7 separate regions of the Homo sapiens genome follow, and all the other regions are linked to region 4. The links are contacts of gene promoters, found by promoter capture Hi-C in blood cells and fetal thymus (Javierre and others, 2016). All regions are on one chromosome and are shown on one strand. The core of a region is centred on a gene start or on the middle of the fragment in contact, and the rest is flanking DNA. Distances in the headings are between cores, read along the strand shown.

Region 1 (3,017 bases), core at 27-2,526, 1.4 Mb after region 4:
AGGAGGAAACCTTGACCCACTTAAGAACAATCGATATCTAAAAGACAGATCAGCATTTTTAAAAAGAAAGGCTCTATTTGCGTAAGTTCTGATAGGGTTTATACTTTTTATGAGCAGTGTACATTAGTTACTTTGGAAAGGATCTTTTCACTGTATAAAGATGTAGTTAAGTATTATTTTTACATACAATATCAATGCTTGATCCCTTTTATCAAAGAACATTCTATAAAAGTCATTCCAAAAGTAAATCAAAAAGCCAGAATGCTCCTTCAAATAAAAATAATTTGTCACGGGACGGATTTTTATATTCTCTACCTGTCATGTCAAAGAATTCCTATAGTATCAAATCCTGAATCTAAAAGCTTAATTGTGACCACAGAATTTCTATATTTCCCTTTTAGAGATGTTACAGTTTATACAGAAATTTTTCAGTTCATTTCAAAATATGTTAATACAAACGTGTCATAAACCTTTTTCTATGGTCCCAAAAATGTTCCCATCTTTCGGTATTCAAGACTCATCAAGGTCTCGGGTTGCCCAGACAATGAATAATTTTATTTCTTGGGATATTTATGAGATAATCTGCATGAAGTATAACAAGCAATATAAATATGGTCCACAATCCAAGGTCAAATTAGATTTCTGTTCTGAATTCACTGGTTTATAACTAGTGGCTTAGCATGATTTCCTGAGATACTTTTAACAGCAAAGCCCATTAAAAGAAGTATATAAATAACGCATTTTTCTTATACTCCATATTTATACTATTCTTACACACCAAAACTACAGGAAACATTCAGACAAAGCGTGATTACTGAATTCAGAGTCATTCATATTCTGACTATCATTCTGTGTGGTAATTTTAATACCTGTAATCCATAAGGATATATTTTGAAGTATAGGAATAAACCAAATATTTTTCGCCCATAATTTAAAATCCAGACAAAACTTTCAGATGTGAAACATAAAGGAGACATTATGCCTTACCTCATACTCAGAAATTTCAGGCAAGTTACTTTCATCTGATTTCTCTAGCTTTTCAGCAGCCCACTTGCTTGCAGCCTCAGCAAGTTCCTTTTCAGTTAGCCTACTGGGTTTGTCTAACACCTAATAAAAATAGAACATTTCTGTTACAATTCTCAAGGGCTTTTAAACTTCAAATACACCAAGAAGTACACTCCACTTACATTTAAAATCATATAAGCCTCCAAATTTCTATGGAGAACAGGTACATTCTTTATTTCCTCCTTCAAAAATATTCAACATGGAATTACTTTAAGTAGCAATTCCTTTGGGACATATAGACCAGATCTAATTCTTAATTTCATTTACATAAGACTCTAGAAATTCATCTAAGTAACAAAGCAAAAGACACTGACAATTAACTCATATAATAATTATATTTAGAATATAAAAGACATCATACTGATTTCAACTTTGTGCCTTTAAGCATATTTAATGAAATAAGTAATGTCTAAATTTCAGTAAAGCAAACTCCTAATACAACAGAAACGTACAGATATGCTATTATTACAGTGTACAGTGAGTTACATAAATCCTACTCCTTACACAAAATTTTTAAACTTAAATTTCATTTTTTGATCCTACTACTAGTTCCTTTATCTAACTGCACACAATACTAAACAAGGTATGGACTTTGCAGTTATATACAGACCTGGCTTTGAATCGCAGTTTAATGACTTGCTAGGTAGATGACTTTATACACCTAACTTACGACACCATGAGCCTTGGTTTCTTCATTTACAAAATAGGGGTTAATAATGCTCACTTTGCAAAGCAGTTGTGAGAATTGAAGGAGGTAATAGATCTGGAAGTATCCACAATAATGCTTGGTACCTTAGTGTTTCTTTCTTTTCCATATTCACTGATGTGAATCTATTATACTAAAACATATCTGAAAATCAATCAGCCAATGGGCTCAATATAAAAATGAAGAAAGTAAAATGTCTTTTCTGGATCAGATATAATTCCCCCAGTACTGTTTAAAGGCTTATTTTGTAAATAAGATATGAATTGTCAAGCACAAATTTAAAAATTATTTCCTTAGGGCCGTTAAGGTAATTCTCTGATTCCATTCTACTTCCTTGGTATACATTTTCATCAGCTTTGCCCTGCCATGCTTAGTTGCATAACCATCTCTTCTTAAAAAACCTTCTATTACTAAGCTTTACTTCTCTAAAGTCACATCACTGATTCCAAATATACCTCTTGTGGATGACAGTGCTGGGCACTGAACTTATGGGGCACTACCATTTATAAAGTGCTTTTATCTATGAACCAAAAGAAGTACTTTAATTAAATAGAATTCCATGAAGGTGATTAGAGAGGCTTTATTATCCCAACTCATAAACTAAAAAACTGAATGATGGTGACCTGCTCAAAGTCATTAATAAATGCTGAGCTGGGACTTAAATCTAGGCTTTTTTGGGAGGGGCGAGGGGGAATGCAGTCTCACTCTGTCACCCAGGCTCAAGTGCAGTGCCGCGATCTCGGCTCACTGCAACCTCCGCCTCCTGGGTTCAAGCGATTCCCCAACCTCAGCCTCCCGAGTAGCTAACAGTACAAATGCGCACACCATAACCGGGTAATTTTTGTATTTTTAGTAGAGACAGGATTTCACCACGTTGGCCAGGCTGGTCTCAAACTCCTGAGCTCAGGTTATCCGCCTGCCTCGGCCTCCCAAAGTGCTGAGATTACAAGCATGAGCCAACGTGCCTGGCTTAGACATTTTTTTAACTGAAAAGGTCATTTGATGTTTTTCTACACCTTGTTAAATTCATCAAACTACTGGCTAGCCATCTACATTTACTGGAATATTATAGCAATATATCTATATGAAGTATATTCTACAGCCATTGAGGAAGCTTAAACAGCTCATTCCAAAGCCGTGTCCATATATAAGGTTAAAAAGGTATTATAAGTAATACTTTTATTATTACTCAGTAATAGAAGGTTTTTTTAAAAGCTAGTTAGAAGAAGAAAACACATATACAAAC
Region 2 (2,885 bases), core at 143-2,642, 1.2 Mb after region 4:
AATTTAAAACAATGAGCATAATTGTTTATCTGAAAAACAACATAATAAATACATTATTTTCCTTCAGTTTCCAGACTTTAGGCATACTCCATGGTGCATTTATTGTATTTTTCTCCAGGTTAACAACTGATCTCATTGCTTTAAATTTGGAATTACTTCAACTGGAAACATATCTGGAGGTTGACAGAAAAAGATGTTGAGCATATTATTCAAAAGTATAATTAATATACTGTTGAAAAATAAATTGATCCTATGTTTCCTCACTTTTTGAGCATCCTTATTTGTTGAATGAATGAATTCCAGTTTTCTATGTCAGTTTAAGAAATATAATCTGGTCAAATCACTGTAAAGGTTTTTAAATGTATCTGGGGCCAGGTGTGGTGACTCACACCTGTAATCCCAGCACTTTGGGAGGCCGAGGCAGGCAGATCACTTGAGGCCAAGAGTTCGAGACCAGCCTGGCCAACATGGTGAAACCCTGCCTCTACTAAAAAAAAACAAAAAATTAGCTGGACGTGGTGGCGGGTGCCTGTAATCCCAACTACCCAGGAGGCTGAAGCAGGAGAATCTCTTGAACCCAGGAGGTGGAGGTTGCAGTGAGCCAAGATTGCGCCATTGCACTCCAGCCTGGGTGGTAAGAGCAAAACCTATCTCAAAAAAAAAAATAATATAAACTCCATCTCAAAAAAATAATAATAATAAAGAAGACATATGATACCTACTTTACTTGATTTGTTGTTGTTTGTTGCCATTTTGGGGGAGGTTTTATTATTGTTTTATTTGGTTTTTAATTAAAAGAAGAACTTTAAAACTCACTATTCTGAAACCTGGCTAACTATCCAATTTCCTTTGAACTTTTACACGTGGCCAGTGGCAAAATCAGCTAGCTTTAGCACCTTCTTCCTACCATATGCCCTCTGCCAAATCAAATCATCAGGGTCTCAGAATGGAAAATTCTACCTGAATTATCTACCTGGGTTGTTTGCACATATAACTGGAAAACTCTCTTTAATTATTATGTGAAGAAATACTGTGAAGCATTTTAGGAAAAATACTTAACTGTAGCTAAACAGGTCAAGGATTACTTGAAATAAATTGAGAGCTGGTTCAGAGTATTGTATAAAGCCTTAATATTTGCAGATTTGACTTTCCTGAAGTTTTACAGCAGATCTCCTTGTTTGTACTGGACTTTAAACGAATGTTAAAAAAAAGACATGTGAAATCACAGCTCACTCTGTCCCTTCAGGTCTCTGCTCAAAAGTCATCTGATGTCAGATAGCCTTCCCTGGTCACCCTGTAAAAAATAGCAGCATCCCTGCTTTTTCCCAGTCACCATCTAGCACTCCCCAATCCTCTTAAGCTGCTGTACCTTTTTTCATAGCACTGTTAGATATTTATTGTGATAGCTACCTGTTCCCTGAAGATACCTCTGTACTGTTTTGTCTACTGCCATTTTAATGTTGTATATAAAATAAAGATAAGGTCAGGAGCAGTGGCTGAAGCCTATAATCCCAGCACTTTGGGAGGCCGAAGTGGGCAGATCACCTGAGGTCAGGAGTTCGACACCAGCCTGGCTAACATAGTGAAACCCCGTTTCTACTAAAAATACAAAAAATTAGCCTGGCGTGGTTGTGCACGCCTGTAATCCCAGCTACTCGCAAGGCTGAGGCAGGAGAATCACTTGAACCTGGAGGCTGAGGTTGCAGTGAGCCAAGATCGTGCCATTGCACTCCATCTTGGTCAACAAGAGTGAAACTCAGTCTCAAAATAAATAAATAAATAAATAAATAAATAAATAAAATGAAATAAACACAAATAGTAGCCAGTATTCTGTTTTTATCTGACCTAAAAATTTTTTAGAAAGGAGATAGAGATATTTTATTTGGAGCATTTTTGTGGGTTTTTCCCCCCAGCTGAAGTGGAGTTTCTCAGCTGTTTACCCTTTTATCTAAATAAAGCCAGAGAAACATGGTAGAATAGAAGGAAAGATGCGTATCAAATAACCCTCCTTCCTTTTCCACACTCCCAAGTGATCAAGGAAATGTAATCATCTAGCAAAGGGATGCTATATTAATAGAAGATTGAATATGTGCAACAAGGAAGCTATGTGACTTCCTTCTTCATAATACACCCATGCCACTCTGTAACCTTAAAAAAAAAATAGAGGTAGAATCTTCAGAGAGGCTTGTGATGTTGCCATGTATGTTAAAACATGGATGACAGACTGTCTTTCACTCAAACAATCTCCTGATTTAAATTCCAGGGGTGAAAAGCTAATCCTCTAAGTGATTTCAACCAGCTTGCTAGGAAACCTAGTTGCTTGAAATTATTATTTTAATGTCTCGAGTTCCAGAGCTAAATTGGCAGTGAGTCTGTTTTCCTATTAAGAAGTTGAGCCAACTTATTTATCCAGAAATTACCATGTTTCAACTTGGGGGTTCTTTATTATGATAAGACTAATACCTCCAAAGTACACAAAACACTTTCATATTCATCTCATTTTATCTTCCTTGCATCTTTATGTGCAGGTCTGACCAAGGTTATCCCAATTTACTGATGAGGAAGCTACCTTTTAGTTCGAGATGCAGCTTCCTAAGGAGCTTTGGTTTGCCAGTTCCTAAATAAAGGAATGTTTGCAGTTAAATTTTTAGAAAGAAAGAAGAAAAGAACAATAGAAAGGGAAAGTAAGCAAGCACTTGTAGCTTACCCAAAATTGTTTGATGATATTTTATTGTTTCATAAATATTGCTGTGCTTATGTGTGTTCTATATTAAATGCTTTTACATAATTATTGCATCTCCTACTAACTTGCATGGGATCTTAGATGAGTCACATAATTTTCTGGCCTTCGTACCCACTCTGTGCCTCAGTTTCCTCAGTTGTAA
Region 3 (2,815 bases), core at 80-2,579, 1.4 Mb before region 4:
GCCAGAATGATAGAGAATGATGACTGAGGAAGGACCTTGTGTGGGGTGGTCAGGGAAAGCCTCTGATAAGCTGACATTTTAGCAGAGATCTGAAAGAAGTAACAGAACAAGACATGTAAGTACCCGCGGGAATAGGGTTTTAAGAAGAGAGAAATACAAAGGCCAGAGCCTTGAGGACACTCATGCTTAGTGTCTTCAAGAAGAGCAGAAAGGCCATGGTGACTGTGGTATAATGTCTTAGTTCACTTTGTGCTGCTATAACAGAATACCACAGACTGGATAATTTATGGTAAAAAAATGTATTAACTAATATTTCTGGAGGTTGCAAAGTCCAAGATCAAGGGACTCACATCTGGAGAGGGCTTTCTTGCTGCCATCCCATGGTGGAAGGTGAAGGTCAAAATAAGGTAAAGCATGAGACGGTATTGAACTCATCCTTTTAAAATAAACTCACTCTCGGCCAGGCGCGCTGGCTCATGCCGCCTGGGAGGCTCAGTTGGGTGGATCACAAGGTCAGGAGTTCAAGAACAGCCTAGCCAAGATAATGAAACCCCATCTCTACTAAAAATACAAAAGATTAGCTGGGCGAGGTGGCAGGCGCCTGTAATCCCAGCTACTTGCGAGGCTGAGGCAGGAGAATCGCTTGAACTTGGAGGGCGGAGGTCGCAGTGAGCTGAGATCGCGCCACTGCACTCCAGCCTGGGTGACAGAGTGAGACTCCATCTGAAAAATAAAATAATAACAATAATAATAAACTCATCCTCAAGATAATGGCGTTAATCCATTAATGAGGGTGGTGCCCATGACTCAGACACCTCTCATTAAGGTCCTGACACTACTGCACTGTGGACCAAGATTTCAACATATGACTTTGGAGGACACATTCAAACCATAGTGCCTACTGGTGGAGGAGGAGAGTGGTAGGAGATGGGGTCAAGGTTGGTGAGAAAGAGGGAGTGCTACTAATCACTTTGGGCCATGTGGGGCAACAGAAGGACTGGTGATTTTACTCTAAATCACATGGAAATCATATTTGAAATAGATGGGTGGCATTATTTAACATATTTTAAAAGGATCTTTCTGACTGCTTTATGAAAAATGGACTGTAGAATAGCAAATGTAGTCACAGAGAGACCAGTTGGGAAACTAGTTGTATAATATAGTGAAGCGATTGGCTGGGCGCAGTGGCTCACGCCTGTAATCCCAACACTTTGGGAGGCCAAGGTGGGCAGATCACCTGAGGTCAGGAGTTCGAGACCAGCCTGGCCAACCTGGCGAAACCCCATCTCTGCTAAAAATACAAAAATTAGCCGGGTGTGATGGTGCATGCCTGTAATCCCAGCTACTCGGGAGGCTGAGACGGGAGAATGGCTTGAACCTGGGAGGCAGAGATTGCAGTGAGCTGAGATCGTGCTGTTGTACTCCAGCCTGAGCAACACAGCAAGACTCTGTCTCAAAAAAAAAAAAAGACATATATATATAGTTTATTCAGAAATATATCCAGAATATGTATAGTCTATTCAGAAATATATCCAGAATATATATATGTATATATATGTATAGTGAATACATTTATGGTCTTTTCAGAACATATATATATATATGGAGTCTATTCAGAAATATATCCAGAATATATATATGTGTGTGTGTGTGTGTGTGTGTGTGTGTGTGTATATATATATGTGTGTATATATATAGTACACATATATAGTGTATATGTACTATATATACTATATATACACTATATATACACTATATATAATATATATAGTATACATAGTATATATAGTGTATATATAGTATATAGAGTATAGAGTATATATATACTATATATACACTATATATAGTATATATATACTCTATATAGTATATAGAGTATATATAGAGTATATATAGTATATGTATAGAGTATGTATATACTATATATAGTATATAGAGTATATATAGTATATGCATATTTTATATATAGTATATGTATATAGTATATATATATATATATATATAGTGAAGGGATGATTGCAGTGAACTGGGTGGTAATGGTAGATGTGGATTATGTGTTTTTGAGGTAGATCTGAAAAGAGTTTCTGATGTAGTGAATTTGGGTATGGGGGAAAAACGAAAGTCAAGGATGACTCTAAGGTTTTAACTTGAGTTATGAGAATGGAGTTGCTGTGTCTGAGATGTGAAAGACTACAGGAAAGCAAGGGGGTGGGGAAATAGTGTATTTTTTTGGACCTGTAAGTTTGAATGTAATATTAGACATCTATGTGGAGATGTCCAGTAGGCATGAATCTGGAATTTGGAGGAGAGCTTTGCACTAGACATATAAACTTAGAACTGAATAAGATCACTTGGAAAATGAGTTTCTACAAAGGGGTGATGTCTGAGGATTGAGGATTGAGCCCTAGGACACTTTTCTTCAACATACGCATGGGGAAAATGAGAAATAATCAGCACAGGAGACTAAACAGTAGTGGGCAGTCAGCAATGGGGAACAACAGGAAAGGGTGAGGTTGTAGAAGCCAAGTTAAAATTTTTTTCACAAAAGGAGGAAATGATCTCCTGTGCCAAATGAATCTGATTGGGTGGCTTTGTAAAAACTAGCTATTTAGCAATTTTTCTGTAGCTAGAACAGTTTTCTTTCTTTTCTTTTTTTTTTTTTTTTTTTTGAGACGGAGTCTCGCTCTTGTTACCCAGGCTGGAGTGCAGTGGCACGATCTCAGCTCACTGCAACTTCTGCCTCCCGGGTTCAAGCGATTCTCATGCCTCAGCCTCCCAAGTAGCTGGGATTACAGGTGCATGCCACCACACCTGG
Region 4 (3,227 bases), core at 711-3,210:
AAGTGTAGGGTAGCCATATTCAGCCATTTTGACTGCACAAGCAGAGAGATCTTATTTGGAGAAAAAGAAGAGAAAAGCAGAGGTGACAACCAAGTTGTCAAGATCTATAAGATCCTCCAATATCCTTATAATAAACCCTCTTATCTGCATACATTGTTTTCAAATGGTTTGTTTCTTACAGACACTTGTCTTAGCCTTGAAACCTGCTGACTTCCCAACTCTGTGGTTCAATTTCCAAACCTCTTAAAGTTAAAAAACAAAACCTGCTATTTTTTTCAGCTCGTCACACAGGATGTTGGTACTCAAAATAAGTCTATTATATATTATTTGTAAACTGTAAACTACCATACAAATCTAAGGTATTATTCTCATGACAGCTCTGGCAAATGTTCACTAAATGGAGACACAATAGATGAAGAAAAGTGGGAAAATATTTGTGGCTAGAGCAGAGCAAGGTACCCAAGACGCTTGCAGCTTTTAAGTCAAACTATTGTACTGGCAGTAAATAAGCACTTTCTGGTGGCTGTCAGGGTGGTCCCAACCTAACTAGACATTCCTCTTCTTCAGGACTGAGAATACAGTGGCCTTTCCCAAGCACGAATATGGAAGGATTATATTTTGCTCAACTATACTTTTGAGCAACGCCAACTTCCTTAAGCAATTTCCCCGAAGCACTAGGACATGAATCAGTCAAAATACTGCAAGTCAACTCTGCAATTTTCTCTCTGCTCAGCAATGTAGTCAAAAACTGGTAAATCAGGGTGAACCATTGTGTCAGGAAGAATTTGATTAGAATGAAACTCCTCCCTACATTTCTTAAATCCATACAAGTCATAAAACTCAGATTTAGTTTATTCCTGAATATGAGAATATGTCTGAAAAACAGAGCTCAGATAACAGGCAATAGAACATAACCTTGTTTGCTGTGATTCTTGTAAAGAAAAACAATTGCAGGCCTGTTCATCACTCATGAAAAATACATCGTATAGTACTGGAACAGTGATTAACTTGCACTTATATTATTGACCTGAATAAATTATTTCTTCATTAGCAGATTATAATTTTGTGTATGTGTCACTTCAAGGCCCTAAAAATAAGAACTAGCTTCCCACCTAGTAGCAGTAGAGAAGCAGTACCAAAAAAAAACCAAACCCCCCACAAAACTAACATTACCTTTCAGGAAGGAACTACATGTTTGTAAAAGCAGGAAAGGAAAAGATTTTTAAGTAATATCTGCTGCTACCTTACAAATCTGTCCAAGTGAATTTTGAATAATTACTGGATTAAATAATAAACTGCCAACCTAAAGCAGAGCAGGATTTGCAATGGTATAATCGACCACAGAGGGATACTCAAATCAGCTAATCTCTTAGTGGCTGTCTCTTTCCGGAGTGAAGAGAAAGATACACTGAGTCTCTAAATGTGTCCAGCTGAAAAGAAAAGTTAACAGTCTGAGATTAACTTAATTTAAAATCGTGGAAAAATTTGATGAGAGGCAGTCTATATTAATTCTTTCAAAACAATGGAGCAAGGAGAAGGCTTTTCTACACTAAACGGTATCGATTATAGGAAGAGTAAACCAAGAAAAATAATGTGCACATCTTTTTTAAGCTGGAAAATGCCTATTTGGTAAAATGATCACTTCCGTTTTTGAGCACCCCTTTGCTGAGGCAGCGAATGGCGGCGTCGGCGGGGTTGTCAGAGAGCAGACGTCGGAGCACTGAGCAGTCTAGATTCTGCGGCATGTCCCCCCCGGAAGAAGCGGGAGAGGCGGCGGCAAGAGCAGAAGCAGGACCCCAAGCAGAGAACTAGGATAGCGAGGCCGGGGGCTGGACCGCAGCCCGGCGGCCAGGAAGGGCGGCGGGGCGGCGGGGACGCTCGGGCACTCAGTCAACCTCACGGGGCGGGGCGGCCGCGGGTCGCGGGCGGATGACGCGCCGGGGCCGGCGGAGGAGCAGCCACTTCCTGGGGCCGCCGGCCGGGGCCGCTGGCTGCACTCAGCGCCGGAGCCGGGAGCTAGCGGCCGCCGCCATGTCCCACCAGACCGGCATCCAAGGTAACAGCGCCCGGCGCGACTCGCAGGGAAGGGGCTTCCGGGAGAGCCGGGAGAGCCGGGAGGGCTGCAGGACCGGCAGGGCTGGAGTCGGGCCGGGAGCTCCGGAAGTCGGTCTCGCGGGGCGAGCCGGGCCTCGGCGCCTCTCCGCGCTCCTGCTTCCCGGGCGCTGCCGGCCTGCGTCCTCCTCCAGCCCGGTCCCTGCTGCCGTCACGTTGCAGATTGATCCGAAATTCGGGGGAGCGAAGGAAATTGGCTTTCGAGGCGGCCTGGTTGAAGGGGGCGTGCCTTCCACCGTCCCCGACAGTCGCCCAACTTTCCCCCTTTTGGTCACGTAGGGAAGAGCTGGGACAGTGGAGGCGACTGGGGCTTCAGTACGCTGTCGAGAACCAGGCGAGTTTTCTTTTTCATGGTCCAAAGGAGAATATTACAGGACTTTGATTACAAAAAGAACCATGCCAGAATCTTTCTCACATCAGTAGGGGTGCTTCCCAAAACTCTCCCGCATTTTCTCTCCAAATAGGAAAATGAGAGTTATGTTCTGAGAAATCTCGAGTGTAAGCGTGTGTTTTGATCTTTTTCCTAGATACTCCCCAAGGGAAACTGATCTGTATGGTTGCATGTAATGCGTGCAGACAGTTCAATATGCAGTTATATCTGACCTCCATTATTTCCTGGTTTGAAATTGGGCAGCCTGCAGGTACTCACCTCATCAAGAGTCAAATAATATATCCCCGGGTTACTCGCGATCACTTAACGAGTTCTAGTGTAAACTCAAGCTCTTACTGTTAATAGCGAGTCTTTCTCCCAGATGAACACTTAATTGTATGTTTTATTCGTAAAGATTTTTGACACCACCGCACACATCCCCCTGCACGCACGCAGAAGCAAAATAGTCTCAAATCTGAAAACTTTGTTTTATTTATCCGCATTAATTTCGATATATAAATATGTAGTTATTGACTCTCATGCTTGAGCCTTATAGCAAGCACTACCTACTTACATAGTGGTTCTTGCTGCTAATAGACAACACAGGAACGAAATTAGAACGAAATTGAAGCTTTAATAGGAACACAAGGGTTAGTTATTAAATACATATTTATTCAATGAGTTTAATCTAGCTTTTGAGAAATGCAAGTTAGAAAAATATAACCAGAGTTAAGACTGAATGCAT
Region 5 (2,923 bases), core at 1-2,500, 1.3 Mb after region 4:
GGATGTCCCTTCCTTCCCAAACAGGGTCAGATTTACTGCTCAAAAACGTGCAGTCTTGGTGAAGACGTCCATGCCTCTGATTCTTCCGACTCTGCATTTCAGTCAGCTCGATCAAGAGACTCCCGAAGAAGTGTCCGAATGGGCAAGAGCAGCCGGTCAGCAGATCAGTGTAGACAGTCTCTCCTCTTATCGCCTGCTCTGAACTACAAGTTTCCTGGCCTCTCAGGCAATGCTGATGACACCCTTTCTCGAAAATTGGATGATCTGAGTCTCTCCAGACAAGGAACAAGTTTTGCCAGTGAAGAATTTTGGAAAGGCAGAGTAGAGCAGGAAACTCCAGAAGACCCTGAAGAATGGGCTGATCATGAAGATTATATGACGCAGCTCCTCCTCAAGTTTGGTGATAAAAGCCTCTTTCAGCCACAGCCCAATGAGATGGATATTCGAGCCAGTGAGCACTGGATATCTGATAACATGGTTAAAAGTAAGACCGAGTTAAAGCAAAATAACCAGAGCCTTGCAAGTAAAAAATACCAGTCTGATATGTACTGGGCACAGTCACAAGATGGACTGGGCGATTCTGCTTATGGCAGCCACCCAGGCCCTGCAAGCAGTAGAAGGCTTCAGGAATTGGAACTGGACCATGGGGCTTCAGGGTATAATCATGATGAAACACAGTGGTATGAAGATTCCCTGGAGTGTCTGTCAGACCTGAAACCAGAGCAAAGTGTTCGGGATTCGATGGATTCTTTGGCATTGTCCAATATCACAGGTACGTAATCTAGGGATTATGGGGTATTTGAAAAAAGGAGCTACTAAAAAGTGTATTCAAAAAATTGCAATTCAAGCCAGGCGCAGTGGCTCATGCCTATAATTCCAGCACTATGGGAGGCTGAGGTGGGCAGATCATTTGAGGTCAGGAGTTCGAGACCAGCCCAGGCAACATGGCGAAACCGCGGCTCTACTAAAAATACAAAAATTAGCTGGGCATGGGCCTGTGATCCCAGCTACTCGGGAGGCTGAGGCAAGAGAATTGCTTGAACCCAGGAGGCAGAGGTTGTAGTGAGCCAAGATTGCGCCACTGCACTCCAGCCTGGGCAACAGAGCAAGACTCCATCTCAAAAAAAAAAAAAATTGCAATTCAGCATGAGTAGGAGTTGTGTGTTATTCAAAACCATGGATCAAGGGAAGGAAGGAACCTCACTTAAATACCAAACACTAGCAAAACAAACACATGTGTGAGGTGAGTGCATGTGCATAAAATATATTTACAGTGCAGTCTTTAGGGATAGGTTTTATTACCCTGTTTTGAAGAGAAGGAAATTGATTGGAGGAAGGAGTGTACAACTGGATTGTGTCTGAAAGATATTGTACGCTTGAATTATTCTGTATGTATTCTAAGATACCAAAATTGGCCCACACACTTTACAAGCTCTTTTTTTTTTTGAGGTGGAGTTTCGCCCTTGTCGCCCAGGATGGAGTGCAATGGCGCAGTCTCACCTCACTGCAACCTCCATCTCCCGGGTTCAAGTGATTCTTCTGCCTCTGCCTCCCCAGTAGCTGGGATTACAGGTGCATACCACCATACCTGGCTAATTTTTGTATTTTTAGTAGAGATGGGGTTTCGCCATATTGGCCAGGCTGGTCTCGAACTCCTGACCTCAGGTGATCCACCCGCCTCAGCCTCCCAAAGTGCTGGGATTATAGGCATGAGCCACCACGCCTGGCCACAAGCTCATTTTTTTTTTTAAACATCTTCCTGAATTTCCCTGTGACAGTAGCTCAAAAACAGCTGAATACTTTTTATTTAGATTCTAAAATATTACTGTAATGTTTTCTTTTTTTTCCTAGTTTTTTGTTTTGTTTTGAGATGGAGTTTCACTCTTGTCACCCAGGTTGGGGTGCAATGACGCGATATCAGCTCACTATAACCTCTGCCTCTCAGGTTCCTGAGTTTAAGCGATTCTCCTGCCTCAGCCTCATGAGTAGCTGGGATTATAGGCGCCTGCCACCACGCCCAGCTAATTTTTGTGAGACAGGCTGGTCTCAAACTCCTGACCTCAGGTGATCCACCTGCCTTGGCCTCCCAAAGTGCTGGGATTACAGGTGTGAGCCACTGCCCCTGGCCTACTTTAATGTTTTCAAAGCACAGTCATACCAGTTATCCACATTTTATCTTTAAAATGACCCTGAGCTATATAGAGTGGATGATATGATTGCATTTCACAAATGAGGAAACTTGAATTACCAAAAGGCTAAATGCCAAACATTACATAGGTTCTAAAGGCAAGATTAGGCCTAGAACCTAGGACATTATGCAAATTATTTGCAACAAGTCTTTGGATTATAGAAATGTTGCTGTTGCATGGCTAGTTTTATAGTCAAACTACTGACATCCAGCCCTTTGATGAAGGTAATGCTTCTGTAATGTAGACAGGAAAGGCTTAGTAGCTGCTTCCTGCCAGGAATAACTTGTGCCAGACACTGCAGTGACAAGGAAGGGTACGGCAAAGCTACCCCCCCGGCTTCTGTGGACTTGTCAAAGATAAGGCCGGCAATAAAGGGGAGTTGAGGAAGAATGGTGGGTGAGACTGAGTAAGCACCTTTTGTCTGCCAGGCCCAGTGCTAGGAGTTTTAAATTTAATATCAGAAATAGACATAATTTGGCCAGGTGTGGTAGCTCACACCTGCAGTCCCAGCACTTTGGGAGGCCCAAAGCAGGTGGATCACCTGAAGTCAGGAGTTCGAGACCAGCCTGGCCAACATAGCAAAACCCTGTCTCTACTAAAAATACGAAAATTAGCCAGGCATGGTGGCATGTGCCTGTAATTTCAGCTACTCGGGAGGCTGAGGCAGGAGAATCACTTGAACCTGGGAGGCGGAGGTTGCAGTGAGCCGAGATCATACCACTGCACTCCAGCCT
Region 6 (2,983 bases), core at 44-2,543, 1.4 Mb after region 4:
GTAGTGTATACAGTGTGGATACACTAGAGAAATGGATGATTCACGTGGGACAAAGCACGGTGCTGCAAGATTTCATTCAGAACGGCACACAGTTGAAAACTTACGAGTTGTTCTGAAATTTTCCATCTAATATTTTTGGACAATGGTAGCCATGGTTTACTTATACATGGGAAGCAAAACCACAGATGAGGGGGCACTGCTGTAGTTTTTCAATTCTCACACTTCCTCTATCCTGCTGCTGAGTAGGTGAACTGAAGACTAAGAAGTAATCTTGCAGTACAGAGTAATAAAGCTCACATTTTAGCAAAATACGTTAACCCTGTTAAAATAAGAGAAAAGACAATCTACTTAAATGTGGTTGCTTTATTTTGCACTTTTAATTCACAAAAAGCTTTACAATATCTACATTCCACCTGTTGATAACCAAGGCTTTATATGGCAAGACAATGAAAATTTTATCACATCAACTGGGCATATGCAAAAACAACGGATAATTTACAAACAAGTCTTTTTAATCAAGAACATTATGTAAAATACACACTCTGGTAAACATCTGAATTCATCCATCCTAAAATTAGACTTTAAGAGGCAAAAAAAAAAAAAAAAAATCAAATAGATTTTAACACTAACAAGCCTACCAGAATAATGCTGATGGCAAGCCATAAACAGCTTTAAATGCTGACTGTAATTTGGGGAAGGGGAGAAAAAGAAATTATTTGTTGTACCTATATTTAAATACATCTGTTAGTGAGACTTCTCTAATTTAATGGATTTCAACAAAGTGGACAACTCCTGAGCCTTTGGTAGTTTCTCAAGTTTTGTTTTTAAACTTGTGACATCTTGACTAAAGGAACTGAACCCTCGGACCAGAATACTTATGGTAAGGAAAAACCCCAGGGAAGCGGGGAGAAGGAGAAACAAGACTAGAACTTTCTTAGTCTATCTAAGGTGGGTAACAAATAAAATCACTGCTCATATGAGGGAAGAATACCAGAGTTGTTATGTGGGATTTAGCTTGGCTTATGTTTTATAAAAGCTAAATAAGTATAAACATCTAAATGGCAAAAATAAAAATCCAAGGTGGTCTCATTTAGGAAATTAAAAAAAAATTGTCCTCAATTAGCTTTTAAATTTGCGGAATGGCACAATACATATTTTGAGGCACCCATTATAGAATCTGTTAAAATTATGCATACTGCTACTTCCTCTTTTAATATAATTTTTATGTACTCTAGGGTAGGTATTATCAGTAGAGGCCACTAAAAATAATGCCAGAATTCAAGTGAGAGAGAATAGAAATGGAAAGAGGAAGGGAGGATAATGAAATTGGGTAGTAAGTAATAACAAACATGAGTTTTAAAGTTTCCTCACTAATAACACAGAATTGTATATTTTGGCTCAATGCCGCTGGGCTGCTGAAGTGACCAGGAAGTGAGTGGAATTCATCTTAATTGCCCCAGTTAGATTCTTAACTAACCCATGATTTGGATGAGGGGTTGTTTCCATAGACTGCTTGGTAAGGGGTAGCTGTGCTGTGCTAACTGCCTATTCGCTTTGTTTCTTTCAAGAACACTTTTGAAAGGACAAGAAAACGTAAAAGGCAGCAGAACAGAACAAAGAACTCATTAGACTACAGAGATTAACACAGCAATAATCTGCCAATAGTTTAATCATGGACATGTTACAATCATCTTGTTTCTTGAGATAGAGCATATGGGCCTATAAAAAAATTTAAAAAATAAAATTCCACTATTCCTGGCATATTCCAAAATTTTCCTCTTTTGATTAGAGTTTTTTTGGACAAGTCCCATGCGGAGTCTGTCCTGAAGACTCTGGCTGAGTGATGGATGAAAGGAGTATTCTGACACAGGTATTTTGCATGAGAACGGCTGGGGGAGTGCCAGCTTTAGTGCAGCCGAGAAGAGAGTGCAGTCCTGATAGGCTGGAACCATTTGTATTTATTCAGTAGAGACAGAATACCAAAGGCCTGAAGCCAACACAATTTGTGAGTAATGAACATTGTCGCCCCCCTTTGCAGGGAGCAGTCTTGCATGATTTCCGGAGGGCATAAGTAAACAAACTTATCTAGATAAATTCCTTTACACTCCCTTGCTACCTACTGTTCGCCCTCAGCCTCAGGGTAAGAGAATTAATTAATAAAGCTGCCTTCAGCTTTATTCTCTCCTGAAGCTTTGGAAAACCTCCCGACCTTCCAATTGCGTCTTTCCTTATAGCTTCTCCTACCAACCTGACCATCTCCTACATCACCCCTTTTCTGTTTTTTGCATCAGGTTTTGTTGATTGACGAGTACAGATGTGTGCAGCAACAGTTTTGTCAGGCATAGCAGTTACTGCTTGTTTTCTGGCTTTACATCCTAGAATTAGTAAACAACAAGAGACAAACATGAGTATAATTAGTAATATTCTTTTCTAACTAAGAAGCGACCCCCAGGAGTGGGGGTCTTTCTAGGAGAGATTTTTTTTTGCATATCCTTCCATATGGCTGTTACTGAGGAACCCCACTGGGGGTATGTTAGTCCCTCCTAGCTAAAAAGTCACACTGCTAGACGCTGGGAAGGGAATAGGGCTGAAAAAAGGCAGATTTAGAAAATGGGCTTAATAGGGTATAGTAGGTACGGGTAACAGGCAAAGTGAGAGAATAAAAAGGACCAATACCTTGCGTGAGTTGCAATGTACAACAGAGAGCATAGCAAGGAACAAATTTTCTGGAGTGAATGGTGTCTGTGTTCGGAGCAGGATCCTCTCAGCCTCCTGAGTTGTCTTCTTCAGCATCCCCCAGGTAATGTCTGGGGCTCCTGTCGTCCGACGAAGCTGTGTCGTCCGACGAACCCGTTTCTTCCGGGGCTGCAGGGGCTGCGGGGCCTGCGGGGGCTGCGGGGCCTGCAGGGTCGTTTCCTTCATTTCTGGTACTTGGTTGGGTCCTAGCCCCACTATGGTATGGTTTGATGCGTCGTGCTGGAAT
Region 7 (3,130 bases), core at 395-2,894, 1.3 Mb after region 4:
ATGCCCCTTGAGTGTGTGAAACCTTTAAAGAAATGACAGTTTAGTGTCTCTTTTACTGGAAAATTCACATCTCGATTGAAGTTAAGGACATCCTAAACAAGGAAATGTGTATATCCATAAGGGTGGTATATTTTGTATTGTGAAAAGAATGGATGTGTGACATGTTTCTGTACTGCTAAATTAGTCTGTAGTTAAATTTAATTCACCTGCATATGTAGTCTGGGAGAATTGGAGTAGCTTTTGAATGGAGAACCTGTGATCTGCATCTTCCATGCACTAAGGCCTTGTTAACAAGCAGTTTAACAAAGAAGCTGTTAAGCAGTTTGTAGCCCACGGATGGCACTTAGCAGCAGGGGACACCTAGGGAATGTTGGCCTAACTGACTTCACAAATCAGTATCTGTTCTGGCTTTTGGTGATCAGAGGATTTCTAACTTCCCTGGGCATGTTCACACAAGAAATACTTTTTCATAGGGATCTTACAATGCCATGGTAGTCTTCATATAGGAACTAGAGTGGGATTGCATTGGAGAAAAAAATGTAATTAGGGATATGACCTTATACTTCATTTTCAATGGCAGGCCCTGACAATTACTGTTTTCTATTTGCATGATTTTGATTTGGTGACTTGGTTCAAGAAAATTATGAATAATAGGAATCATACCAGACCTGATATACAGTTACAACCTCAATATGTATCTGATTAAACTCATTCTCCTGAAATCCCTCAAATCCTCACTCCCCTTCTGAGTTGCCCTAAGGTACTTATGTATTGGTATGTCAATCACCTAATACTCAAAACTGTCTTTGGCCCAATTTCTTCCTTTCCTATTAGTTCCTTTTACTTTCCCTCCCCAAGTCACTATGTGTAAGCTTTCTTAGGGACAGTGTACTAATTGGCCCCTCTCAGGTTCTTTATCTTTTTCCTGACCATCACTACCATATTAATCTTCTTTAAGACCCAGAAGTATCTTGTGGCAGTCTCCATTCATGTCTTTTGCAGCTTCCCATTGCCTGTAGTGATAAGCCCACAGTTTTCTGCCTGAAATGTGTAATTCTTGAAAATAGGATTCAGACACCATTGCCATCTGTTGTTGCTTCTTTGGAAGAATCTGTCTTCTAGCAAAACCGTCCACTCTTCACTGCCTCTGGACCTTCATATACTGTGCTGACTTATTAAGCTCTTTACAGAAACATAGTTATGGCTCATTTATGTATATGTCAAGGTCAATCAAGATAATAATCCTTAGCTATCCTGGAAGCAGCATACAGACCAGTAGAAAATGAAATGATCCCCAAGTGGCCAAAATAGCATAACGAAATAATAAACCTTCTCTTTAGTTTGAATAACACCTTCTCACACTGTATGCTATCTTATTTCACCAGTGGTTACTGTGCTTATAGGAGAAGTCCTTAAGCCCTTGTCCATGCCATAATTACTACATAGATTTTTTTTTGGGACAGGGTCTTGCTGTATTGCCCAGGCTGGTCTCAAACTCCTGGGCTCAAGCAATCCTCCCACTTCAGCCACCAGGTAGCTGAGAGTATAGGCATATGCCCAGCTTCTGTGTACTTTTAGACAAACTTTTTCAAAGAATGGTTGCCTAATACCGGAAGCAACAAATTTTGAAAGGTTTGGAGGTTGTTGGCTGTGGGCAAAAGAGAAAGGCACCTTAATAAGAGACAGGTAGCAGGGATCAAAACATTATGAGAGCAGGGAGAAAAAAACCTACAAAAAGTTTGCTAGTTATCATAAATGTATGGGTCAGGGGCCATTCTGTTTCTTGAATCCCGAAGCCAGTGTTTTCTACTGTGCTCAAAATGAAAACAAATGATCAGCCGAAGGCTAAATCACATATAATTTTTACACGTGCCACCACGAAAGAAAGCAAGGAGATGAATAATGGAATTTTTTTTTTTTTTAAGATGGAGTTTCGCTCTTGTTGCCCAGGCTGGAGTGCAATGGCATGATCTTGGTTCACTGCAGCCTCTGCCTCCCAGGTTCAAGCAATTCTCCTGCCTCAGCCTCCCAAGTACTGGGATTACAGACATGCGCCACCATGCCCGGCTAATTTTGTATTTTTAGTAGAGATGGGGTTTCACCATGTTGATCAGGCTGGTCTCGAACTCCTGACCTCAAGTAATCCACCCACCTTAGCCTCTATAGTGCTGGGATTACAGGCATGAGCCACTGCACCCGGTGGCTACATTTCTTTCTAAGTTCTGGCTTTTAATGGAATAAATGTCAGTTGGCTCCTTTTGGCATTCCCCAGAACCGTTCAATAACAACTTTAAATATAAGGATGAATGAATGAATGCAGTGAATGAACCTAGAAAGTAAATTTCACAAAGGAACCCCTCATTATATCACTGTGTTATATGAATAAGGCCATACTTGAATTTGGGGAACAAGCTTTACCTAGAAAAACTGTCATGCTCCATAGACCACTACACATGCTGTGTGCGAATGTGTGCACGCACACACGCTATGTGTATGGTATTGGAGGCTTTATGTGGGGACTGGTTAGAAGCTGCTACCGAAGCAGCTGGAAACGTTGGTCAATAACTTGGCAAAATTGTCTGCCGTTCAGAAGGCTAGAGCTCTCGCAAGCTCAAAAAGAAGATGAAACTCAGGTTTTGTTATTAACATATTGTTTCAATTCCATTTGTCACTGGTTAGCTTCAAGAAAGTCTGTTTAGTCCCAGTGGAAGCAGCAATGCCAATTGGTACGTTGCAATAGGAGCTTTAATTCTTTATGGTCGTGAAATTCTTTTCTGTTTTAAAACATCCTTAGACCATCTTTGGAAGGCAAATAGTGGCTATTTTTTAAAATCAGGTCTCAAGATGTTTGTTGACTTGTCAAAGCTTTGAAGACATCAGGACCAAGTTTACTGAATGCTGAGAGCATCAGATTCCATTCCCTAAGTATAGCCCTTATCCTTTGGGTCAGATGTTCTCTTGACAATGATGATTGAGAAGTCTTACATCTGTTAGCTGCTTGTCTTTGTTTTTAATGATGAGAAATAGCTATTTAACTATTTTGAAGGAAGAGGCGAGAGAAAGGACAAAGGAGGGAAATGGAACTGTTCCATTTTCTATTGCATGGAATAGCCCCATGATATTCCTTGCC

Evidence for each region. Contacts are between HindIII fragments. The CHiCAGO score rates a contact against its expected background, and 5 or more counts as called.
Region 1: a contact is called between a fragment that was not itself captured here and the fragment with the promoter of TWF1 in region 4, in 4 of 17 cell types (total B cells, naive B cells, M1 macrophages and 1 more). The highest score is 9.4, in total B cells.
Region 2: a fragment that was not itself captured here is called in contact with the fragment with the promoter of TWF1 in region 4 in 1 of 17 cell types (M0 macrophages); the score reaches 5.2 in M0 macrophages.
Region 3: a fragment that was not itself captured here is called in contact with the fragment with the promoter of TWF1 in region 4 in 1 of 17 cell types (M2 macrophages); the score reaches 5.8 in M2 macrophages.
Region 5: a contact is called between a fragment that was not itself captured here and the fragment with the promoter of TWF1 in region 4, in 2 of 17 cell types (total B cells and M0 macrophages). The highest score is 8.1, in total B cells.
Region 6: a contact is called between a fragment that was not itself captured here and the fragment with the promoter of TWF1 in region 4, in 1 of 17 cell types (total B cells). The highest score is 5.3, in total B cells.
Region 7: a fragment that was not itself captured here is called in contact with the fragment with the promoter of TWF1 in region 4 in 5 of 17 cell types (total B cells, naive B cells, monocytes and 2 more); the score reaches 15.8 in total B cells.

Annotation. Positions count from the first base shown.
Region 1 is chr12:42,391,660-42,394,676 of GRCh38, reverse strand. PPHLN1 (periphilin 1) reads right to left here. Exons shown (of 10, transcript NM_201439.2): 8 at 988-1,107. Among named protein-coding and RNA genes, the nearest start is that of PPHLN1, 67 kb to the right of the region's middle. The HindIII fragment of the contact is 1,824 bases long and covers 365-2,188 here.
Region 2 is chr12:42,577,659-42,580,543 of GRCh38, reverse strand. All of the region lies in intron 1 of PRICKLE1 (prickle planar cell polarity protein 1), which reads left to right. Among named protein-coding and RNA genes, the nearest start is that of PRICKLE1, 11 kb to the left of the region's middle. The HindIII fragment of the contact is 5,978 bases long and covers 1-2,885 here.
Region 3 is chr12:45,205,862-45,208,676 of GRCh38, reverse strand. It overlaps the pseudogene PLEKHA8P1. Among named protein-coding and RNA genes, the nearest start is that of ANO6, 8.8 kb to the left of the region's middle. The HindIII fragment of the contact is 6,012 bases long and covers 1-2,815 here.
Region 4 is chr12:43,805,050-43,808,276 of GRCh38, reverse strand. TWF1 (twinfilin actin binding protein 1) reads left to right here and starts at 1,960. Exons shown (of 9, transcript NM_002822.5): 1 at 1,960-2,056. The coding sequence starts at 2,032. It also overlaps a transcript of TMEM117 not described here. RefSeq lists a silencer at 1,785-2,264. The HindIII fragment of the contact is 5,668 bases long and covers 1-3,115 here.
Region 5 is chr12:42,462,244-42,465,166 of GRCh38, reverse strand. PRICKLE1 (prickle planar cell polarity protein 1) reads left to right here. Exons shown (of 8, transcript NM_153026.3): 7 at 1-772. Among named protein-coding and RNA genes, the nearest start is that of PRICKLE1, 130 kb to the left of the region's middle. RefSeq lists an enhancer at 1-402. The HindIII fragment of the contact is 5,218 bases long and covers 1-2,923 here.
Region 6 is chr12:42,445,984-42,448,966 of GRCh38, reverse strand. It overlaps a transcript of PPHLN1 not described here. Among named protein-coding and RNA genes, the nearest start is that of PPHLN1, 120 kb to the right of the region's middle. The HindIII fragment of the contact is 1,799 bases long and covers 394-2,192 here.
Region 7 is chr12:42,478,747-42,481,876 of GRCh38, reverse strand. The region is part of intron 1 of PRICKLE1 (prickle planar cell polarity protein 1); the gene reads left to right. Among named protein-coding and RNA genes, the nearest start is that of PRICKLE1, 110 kb to the left of the region's middle. RefSeq lists enhancers at 1-600, 2,610-2,699 and a silencer at 914-1,114. The HindIII fragment of the contact is 1,540 bases long and covers 875-2,414 here.